2 separate regions of the Homo sapiens genome follow, and region 1 is linked to region 2. The links are contacts of gene promoters, found by promoter capture Hi-C in blood cells and fetal thymus (Javierre and others, 2016). All regions are on one chromosome and are shown on one strand. The core of a region is centred on a gene start or on the middle of the fragment in contact, and the rest is flanking DNA. Distances in the headings are between cores, read along the strand shown. Region 1 overlaps SORT1 (sortilin 1). Region 2 holds the start of SORT1 (sortilin 1).

Region 1 (4,083 bases), core at 129-2,628, 67 kb before region 2:
GGGCTTCCCCTGCTGAAGCCATCTGTAAAGGCCTATGTGTGTAAGAGGACACATAGGCTAAAAGTAGAGATAAAAAAAAGATATTCCACTCAAATGGTAGCCAAAAGAGAGCAGGGGTGGCTATATTTATTTATTTATTTTTGAGACGGAGTGTCGCTCTGCCACCCAGGCTGGAGTGCGGTGGTGCCATCTCAGCTCACTGCAAGCTCTGCCTCCTGGGTTCATGCCATTCTCCTGCCTCAGCCTCCCAAGTAGCTGGGACTACAGGCGCCTGCCACCACACCCGGCTAATTTTTTGTATTTTTAGTAGAGACAGGGTTTCACCATGTTAGTGAGGACGGTCTTGATTTCCTGACCTCGTGATCCGCCCGCCTTGGTCTCCCAAAGAGCTGGGATTACAGGCGTGAGCCACCATGTCCAGCCGGGGGTGGCTATATTTATATCAGACAAAATAGACTTTAAGTAAAAAACTATCACAAGGGATAAAGAAAGTTACCACACAATGATAAAGGTGTCAATTCATCAAGAGCATATAACATTGGTAAATATAAATGCACTCAACATTAGAGCACCTAAATGTATAAAGCAAACATTAACAGAACTGAAGAAAGAGGTAGACGACAATACAATAATAGTAAGGGACTTCAATACTTACTTTCAATGATAGATCATCCAGACAGAAAACCAGTAAGGAAAGAGCAAACTTGAACAACACCATACAAATGGACCTAACAGACATATACAGAACATTCTATCCAATAGCAGCAGAATATACATTCTTTTCAAGTGCACAGAGAATATTCTCCAGGATAGTGCATATGTTAGGCCACAAAACAAGCCTTAACAAATGTAAGACTGAAATCACCTCAAGTATCCTTTCTTTTTTTTTTGAGACGGAGTCTCACTCTGTCACCTGGGCTGGAGTGCAGTGGCGTGATCTTGGCTCACTGCAAGCTCCGCCTCCCGGGTTCAAACAATTCTCTGCCTCAGCCTCCTGAGTAGCTGGGATTAAAGGCACCCGCTGCCACGCCCAGCTATTTTTTTTTTGTATTTTTAGTAGAGACCAAGTCGGCCAGGCTGGTCTTGAACTCCTGACCTCGTGATCCACCCACCTCAGCCTCCCAAAGTGCAAGGATTATAGGCGTGAGCCAGTGTGCCTGGCCTCAAGTTCTTTTCAACTACAACATTATGAAACTAGAATCAGTAAAGGGAGGAAAATTGGAAAATTCACATGAATGTGGAAATTGAACAACATATTCTTGAACAACCAATGAGTCAAAGGGAAATAAAAAAAACTTGAGACAAATGAAAAGGGAAACACAACATATTAAAACTTAAGGGATGCAGCAAAAGCAGTTCTAAGAAGAAAGTTTATGGTGATAAATGTCTACATTAAGAAAAAAGAAAAATCTCAAAAATCTTAACTTTATACCTCAAGGAACTAGAAAAAGAACAAACTAAGCCCAAAGTTAGCAGAAGGGAGGAAATAATAACAGAGCAGAAATAACTGAAATAGAAGTTAGAAAAATAACAGGAAAGATCAATGAAACTTAGAGTTGTTTTTTTTGACAAGATAAAAAAGTGACAAACTTTTAATTAGAATAAGAAAAAAAGAAAAGACTCAAGTAAAATCAGAAATGTAAGAGGAGACATTATAACTTATACTACAGAAAAAACAAAGGATCCTAAGAGACTACTATGAACAACTATACATCAACAAATTGGATAATCTAGAAAAAAATGGATGAATTTCTAGACATATACAGCTTACCAAGACTGTATCATGAAGAAGAAATAGAAAATCTGAACATACTAATATGAGTAAGGAGGCTCAATCAGTAATCAAAAACCTCCCAACAAGAAAAGCCTAGGACCTGATGGATTCAATGGTGAATTCTAGCAAACTTTCTTCAAAGAAGAATTAAGACCGATCCTTCTCAAACTCTTCCAAAAATTGAAGAGAATGGAACACTTCCAAACTCATTTTATAAGGGTGGTATTACCCTGCTACCAAAACCAGACAAGGACACTAGAAGAAAACAAAATTACAGGTCAATATCTCTGATGAACATAGATGCAAAAATTCTCAACAAAATACTAACAAACTGAATTCAACAGCATATTAAACAGATTATATACCATGATCAAGTAGGATCTATCTGTGGAATGCAAGGATGGTTCAACATATGCAAATCAATAAATGAGATATGCCACATTAATAGAATGAAGGATAGAAATCATATCATCTTGATAAATCCAGAAAAAGCACTTAACAAATTTCAACACCCATTCATGATAAAAACTCTCAATAAATTAGGTATAAAAGGGATATACCTCAACATAATAAACCCATTCATGATAAAAACTCTCAATAAATTAGGTATAAAAGGGATATACCTCAACATAATAAAGGCTATATGTGACAAGCCCACAGCTAACATCATACTCAAACAGTCAAAAGCTAAACCTTTTCCTCTAAGATCAGGAATAAGACAAAGATGCCCATTCTCACCACTTCTGTTCATTATAGTAATGGAAGTCCTAGCTGGAGCAATTAAGTAAGAAAAAGAAATAAAAACAAAAAGCATCCAAACCAGAAAGAAAGAGGTAAAATTGTCTGTCTGCAGGTGACATGAGCTTATATATAAAAATCCTTAATCTTTAAAGACTCCACCAAAAATGTTAAAACTAATAAATTCAAAAAAGTTGCAGAATATAAAATCAACATATAAAAATACAATATACACTAACAACAAACTATCCAAAAAAGAAATCAAGAAAATTTCATCTACAATAGTACAAGAAAAAAACTTAAAAAAAAAAAACAAAAAAAACTTAGGGATAAATTTAACCAAGGAGGTGAAAGACTAAAAACTACAAAACATTGATGAAAGAAATTGAAGATGACAAAAAAAAAAAAAAGGAAATATATCCTATGTTCCTGGATTGGAATAATTAATATTGTTAAAATGTCCATACTACCCAAAGTGATCTACAGATTAAATGTAATGCCTATTATTTTGACTGTCTTTTTTTACTATTATATGGTTATAAATAACCCTCTTTCTGTGACAACACAGAACAATCCAAACACGTTAATTCATCAGATGTTTACTGAGTACCTGCTATATTTCAGGCACTGTTTTAGGTACTTAAGGTACATCAAGAACAAAACAACCAGTTGTGGTGGCTCACATCTGTAATCCCAGCTGAGAGGCTGAGGTGGTAGGATCACTTGAGGCCAGGAGTTCAAGACTAGCTTGGGCAACATGGTGAAACCCCATCTCTACCAAAAAGTACCAAAATTAGACAGGTGTGGTGGTACACACCTAGCTACTTGGGACGTGGGAGGATTGTGTGAGCCTAGGAGTTTGAGGCTGCAGTGACCTATGATTATTCCACTGGACCCCAGTCAGGGTGACAGACTAAGACTTTGCCTCTTAAAAAAAATTCCAATGGTATTTTTCACAGAAATAGAAAAAATCCTAAAATTTATATGGAACCACAAAAGACCCTGAATAACCAAAGTAATTGCAAGCAAAAAGAACAAAGCTGGGGGTATCATGCTACCTAATTTCAAAATATATTATTGAGCTATAGTAATCAAAACAGCATGGTACTGGCGTTAAAAACAAATAGACCAATGGAACAGAATAGAGAGCACAGAAATAAATCTATGCATTTATTGTCAACTTAACTTTGACAAGGGTGTCAAGAACACACAATGTGAAAAAGACAGCCTCTTAAATAAACGGTGCTGGGAAAACTGAATATCTATATGCAGAAGAATAAATTTCAACCCTTCTTTCTTTTTTTTGAGATGGAGTCTTGCTCTGTCGCCAGGCTGGAGTGCAATGGTGCGGTCTCGGCTCACTGCAACCTCCGCCTCCCAGGTTCAAGCAATTCTCCTGCCTCAGTCTCCCAAGTAGCTGGGACTACAGGTGCACATCACCATACCCAGCTAATTTTTGTATTTTTGGTAGAGACGGGATTTCACCATGTTGGCCAGGATGGTCTCGATCTCCTGACCTCGTGATCCACCCTCCTTGGCCTCCCAAAGTGCTGGGATTACAGGCGTGAGCC
Region 2 (4,449 bases), core at 1,696-4,195:
GTCCAAAAATACTAGATCTCTTCAATACAGTTCAGGATTTTTTATGACTTCTAAAACCAAATAAATAAACAGAAGAACAGGCTACTACATAACAATTCTTGGTTAAGAAGTACTACTTAACCATTTTTAAGGTAAATGATATTAAACAAAGGCTCCACTTTTTTTTTTTTTAACCAGATACAGAAAGGATGAGATCTCTGAAGAAGAGACCACGGATGACTAACAAACGCAAAAACTTTTTTTTTTTTTTTTTTTTTTTTTTTTTTGAGATAGAGTCTCACTCTGTCACCCAGGCTGGAGTACAACGGTGCGATCTCGGCTCGCTGCAACCTCTGCCTCCTGGGTTCAAGTGATCGTCATGCCTCAGCCTCCAGAATAACTGGAATTACAGGCGCATGCCACCGCGTCTGGCTAACTTTTGTATTTTTAGTAGAGACAGGGTTTCACCATGTTGGCCAGGCTAGTCTTGAACTTCTGACCTCAAGTGATCCACCTGCCTTGGCCTCCCACATTGATAAGATTACAGGCATGAGCCACCGTGCCCAGCCAAAATAGCTATTTTAAATAAGGTCACTGAAAAAAAGACTGGGAGAGAAAAACTAAAAAAAAATTATTGCAAACAGCTAAATGAAAGAAATAGAAGAAAATTTCTTTACATGTGGACTTCAAAGAATGAGTGGTTTTAGGTCTACTCTTCCACAGATTTGGCCTTAGAACCCCTGAGCCAGTTTTTTCAACCTCTTTCTTTGGAATCAATATATTACAAATGACACATCAATTCAAACTAACCAGGAAGACTCTGACTCAAGGAATAAATCCAGGCAGGGCATAGTGGCTCACGCCTCTAATCTCAGCACTGTGGCAGGCTAAGGTGGGTGGAGCACTTGAGCCCAGGAGTTCAAGACCAGCCTGGGGAACATGGCAAAACCCTGTTTCTTAAAAAAAGAAAGAAAGAAAGAAAAGAACAATTAGCTGGGTGCATGTACCAGTAGTCCCGGCTACTTGGGAGGCTGAGGTGAGAGGATCACTTGAGCCCAGGAGGTCAGGGCTGCAGTGAGCTGTGATCACACCACTGCATTCCAGCCTGGGCAACAGAGTGAGACCCTATCTCAAAAAAAAAATAGTAATTACACAAAAATTAGCTAGGCATAGTGGTGCACACCTGTAGTCCCAGCTACTCAGGAGGCTGAGGTAAGACTCTATCTCACAAAAAAAGAGAAAAAGAAAAACAGGAGTAAATCTAAATCCAGGAGTAGCAGCAGACCTAAAGTTAGGTCAACCAGCGAGAGAAGAATTTGAAATATGGAGCAAGAATGCTGTGACCAGCTAGCTCAAGGAAGGAAGTGGTCCAGTATAAATTAAGCATTAGTGTTGTAAAGCCTTTCTCAATCCCCCACTGTGAGAAGGAAGTCTATTCGATTTTTTTTTCTCATCAAGTAGGAAGACTTCCCAGTACTCATTCTACCCAACCTGTCTCACCCTCCAGCACTAGCTTGGCTACCTTTACACAGCTGCTGCTCGGGATACACTAAGCACAATTATTCCTGAATATTTGTGTCTTGTGTCCTCAGATCAGAGAATTCTATTACAGGTAACAAGTATGGTCCAGATAACCAGGCAGTCCAAAGGGAGACTGAGGCTTGGCTGACGCTGAAAAACGGTTACAGAAGGACAAGTGCTGGCACAGAGCCTTGGCCACCCATCTCTGCCCCCAAGTGCAATTCATTTTCTTTGAAAGAGGAAAACAGGCAAGGGAGAAAATATATAGAATTGAAAATACATTATGCAAATGTGGCTAGCAAGGATTAAATTGTTAATTTTAGAGAAATAGGAGAAAGATGCCCAAGTTGTGCTGAAGCAAGGAACCAGGACTTTCTTAATAATTAGTTTTGTCAGTCCAGTAGTGTGCAAAGGTTGAGCTGCTTGTCCCCAGGGACAGAAATCCCATAATTTTGAAAGTCTTTTGACCAAGAGCTGGCTCAAAGCAGAATATGTGCAATGCGTTTCTTAACTATTGAAAATCTTGTCACCACGGGATATAGACATGCTAGTCAGACTTCCGTACCATGACAGAAGGTCAAATCTGAAGCAGTAAAAGAGATCACATAAATATTGCCATCTCATTTCCAAGCTAGTCCCCTTAACTATTAAAACACGGTGACCAGATCGCTGCTTCGGGCCTCCTGAACTCCCGCCTCTCCCACCCGGAAAGTACTGACCCAGAGAGGACACACCTTTGCTTCTGCGCAGCCCAACTTCTGCAAGCGCTCAAGAGTTAATTACTCCTTCACCTTCCTGGGGCCTAACAGCGTTACTGGGTCCTGATTATTTATACAGACGAAAAACGATGTTCAAGAGATTTTGACAACTTAAAAAAAAAAAAAAGAATGCGGTGGAAGTCTAAGATTGCCTCCCCTATGACAAAACACAGCCCCGCCGGCCGCCCGGGCCCGACTCCGCCCGCCCGCCCGCCGCAGTTTCGGGGCTGCGGCCCGGGGGACGCGGGCGCGGCAGGGCTGGGGTCTCCTCCGGGAGTCGCGGGGCGCACGGGCCGGGAGGGGCACGCGGGCGGCACCTCGCACCCGAGCGGCTCCCGGGCCCGGCGCCCGCTCACCTGGTGCGTGTTGTTGGCCAGCTTGGCGACGAAGTCCCGGACCCGGCCGCACTCCTCGTCCTCGCCCGGCGCGCTGCGACGCCAACGGCCGCCGCGGGGAAACGCGCCCCCGGCTGCGGCCGCCCGCAGCCCCCAGCTCACCCCGATGGGGCCAGACCAGCGCGGCAGCGGCGCAGCGGGCGGCGGCGGCGCGTCCAGCCGGTCCTGGCTGAGGGTCGACGGCGGCAGCAGCTGCAGGAGGAGGAGGAGGCCGAGGCCATGGGGCCAGCGCGAGAGGCCGTCCGCAGCTCCCCAGGGCCGCTCCATCGCCGCCGAATGCCGCCGACGCCGACACCTGCCGCCCGGCGCGCCCGCCCACCCCCGCCGGCGCGCGCCACACCCCCGAGCCGAGCGCGGCGCTCCTTGGATACGCGCGGCCGGGCCTCTCCGCCCCATAGGCTGGCCGCCTGTCCCTCTTCCCCGGCCCACTCCTCATTGGCTCGCGTCGCCTCCGGCTTCGGGGGTCCTGGATTCGGATGCTAAGATGCGGGACTGATTGGCTGGAACGGGGCAGAGACTGCTGAGGTCAACCCCGCCTCGCCCGGCGTCTCCCGGGCCCGGCTTGTGGAGTTCACGTAGGAGCTTCTCATACCTTCCCGCCGAGCCCCGGGCTCCTGGCGTCGCGACCCCTTGCCGCACCTCTAGCGCCCTCAAGTTGGGGCTGGGTTACGTCCCTCCTGTTCCCCAGAGACACTCCTAAAATTCCTTCGGTGAGGCAGAGCCTGGAAAAACCTACCCAGGAAATCCCTGAGCTTGCTCAGCTGGAAAAGGGGGCTCCATCATGAACCGGGGCTTCGGGTTTTTATAAACCCCGCTCACTGGAGCGCCCATTGTCTGCTAAGCAGCTGCCTTGCTGCAAGAAGGTGAATGCGAACTGATGTGGGCCACATCCTACGGAGACAGACATCAGGACATCCGTGACTCCTGCAAGCCTGAAGAATAGTCTTTCCATACGTTTGGCCTCTCTCACCTTCCTCTTCTGAGGGGAGGTAGGCCAAAGGCGGAATTACTTACAGGTTTTCCAGGACTTCGAATGTAGCTTAGGCATTAGGGGCAGGTAAAAGAGGGGCAAGAGAATGATCCAATGCCTACTGTACACATGATCATTTCCTAGATGCACATTTATTTTACCAAAGTGCCTTAACTCTGCAGTGAGAGCTTCGGACAAGTTTGGTTCCAGTATGTGATGTCCTCTAAATTAGCACCCCGATCCACCTCTAATGAATAAAATAAAACCCCTACGCTGTTCCCTTTACCGCAGAAGCTGCACACACAACTTCTACAACACGTAGCACAGGTAAAACCAGTTCTGAATCCTTAAGCTTACTGACTCCATCCCTTCAGAAAGCTAGAAATTGTTCAGTAGAAAAGGTAGCAAATAGAAAGATACAAAATATGCAAGTCATTACACTCAAAGCAAGTAAAGATTACTTTTAATTATAAACTGGCCATAAACCCAAATGAGGATATAGTCATTGTAGAGCAAAATGATACAATGCACCCAACCCGATATTTACATTAAAATATTTCCAGTCACATTAACTTTCAAACAAAAAGACTTAACGAATTTACAAATTTTTCCAAGACGTGAGAAGTGAAAAATGTTTTTGAATGCCATCTGAGCAGGATAGTAAAATCACTAGAATAGTCTTTTTAAGTTCTCAGTTACTGGACTGAAAAGATAAAGCTGATGAAAATTGGTGAACAATTTGTTCCTTTCCATAACTACTATCAGATTAATTTAAAAAAGATTATTTTTAAATCTATGCCAACTATGGGAGTAGATCACAAGACAG

Evidence for each region. Contacts are between HindIII fragments. The CHiCAGO score rates a contact against its expected background, and 5 or more counts as called.
Region 1: a contact is called between a fragment that was not itself captured here and the fragment with the promoter of SORT1 in region 2, in 2 of 17 cell types (M2 macrophages and megakaryocytes). The highest score is 9.7, in M2 macrophages.

What each region holds. Positions count from the first base shown.
Region 1 is chr1:109,329,130-109,333,212 of GRCh38, forward strand. The region is part of intron 11 of SORT1 (sortilin 1); the gene reads right to left. Among named protein-coding and RNA genes, the nearest start is that of MYBPHL, 24 kb to the left of the region's middle. The HindIII fragment of the contact is 5,647 bases long and covers 1-4,083 here.
Region 2 is chr1:109,394,973-109,399,421 of GRCh38, forward strand. SORT1 (sortilin 1) reads right to left here and starts at 2,946. Exons shown (of 20, transcript NM_002959.7): 1 at 2,615-2,946. The coding sequence starts at 2,920. It overlaps PSMA5 (proteasome 20S subunit alpha 5), which reads right to left. Exons shown (of 9, transcript NM_002790.4): 9 at 4,070-4,449. RefSeq lists silencers at 2,723-2,822, 2,833-2,902, 2,943-3,072 and an enhancer at 3,099-4,080. The HindIII fragment of the contact is 10,275 bases long and covers 1-3,973 here.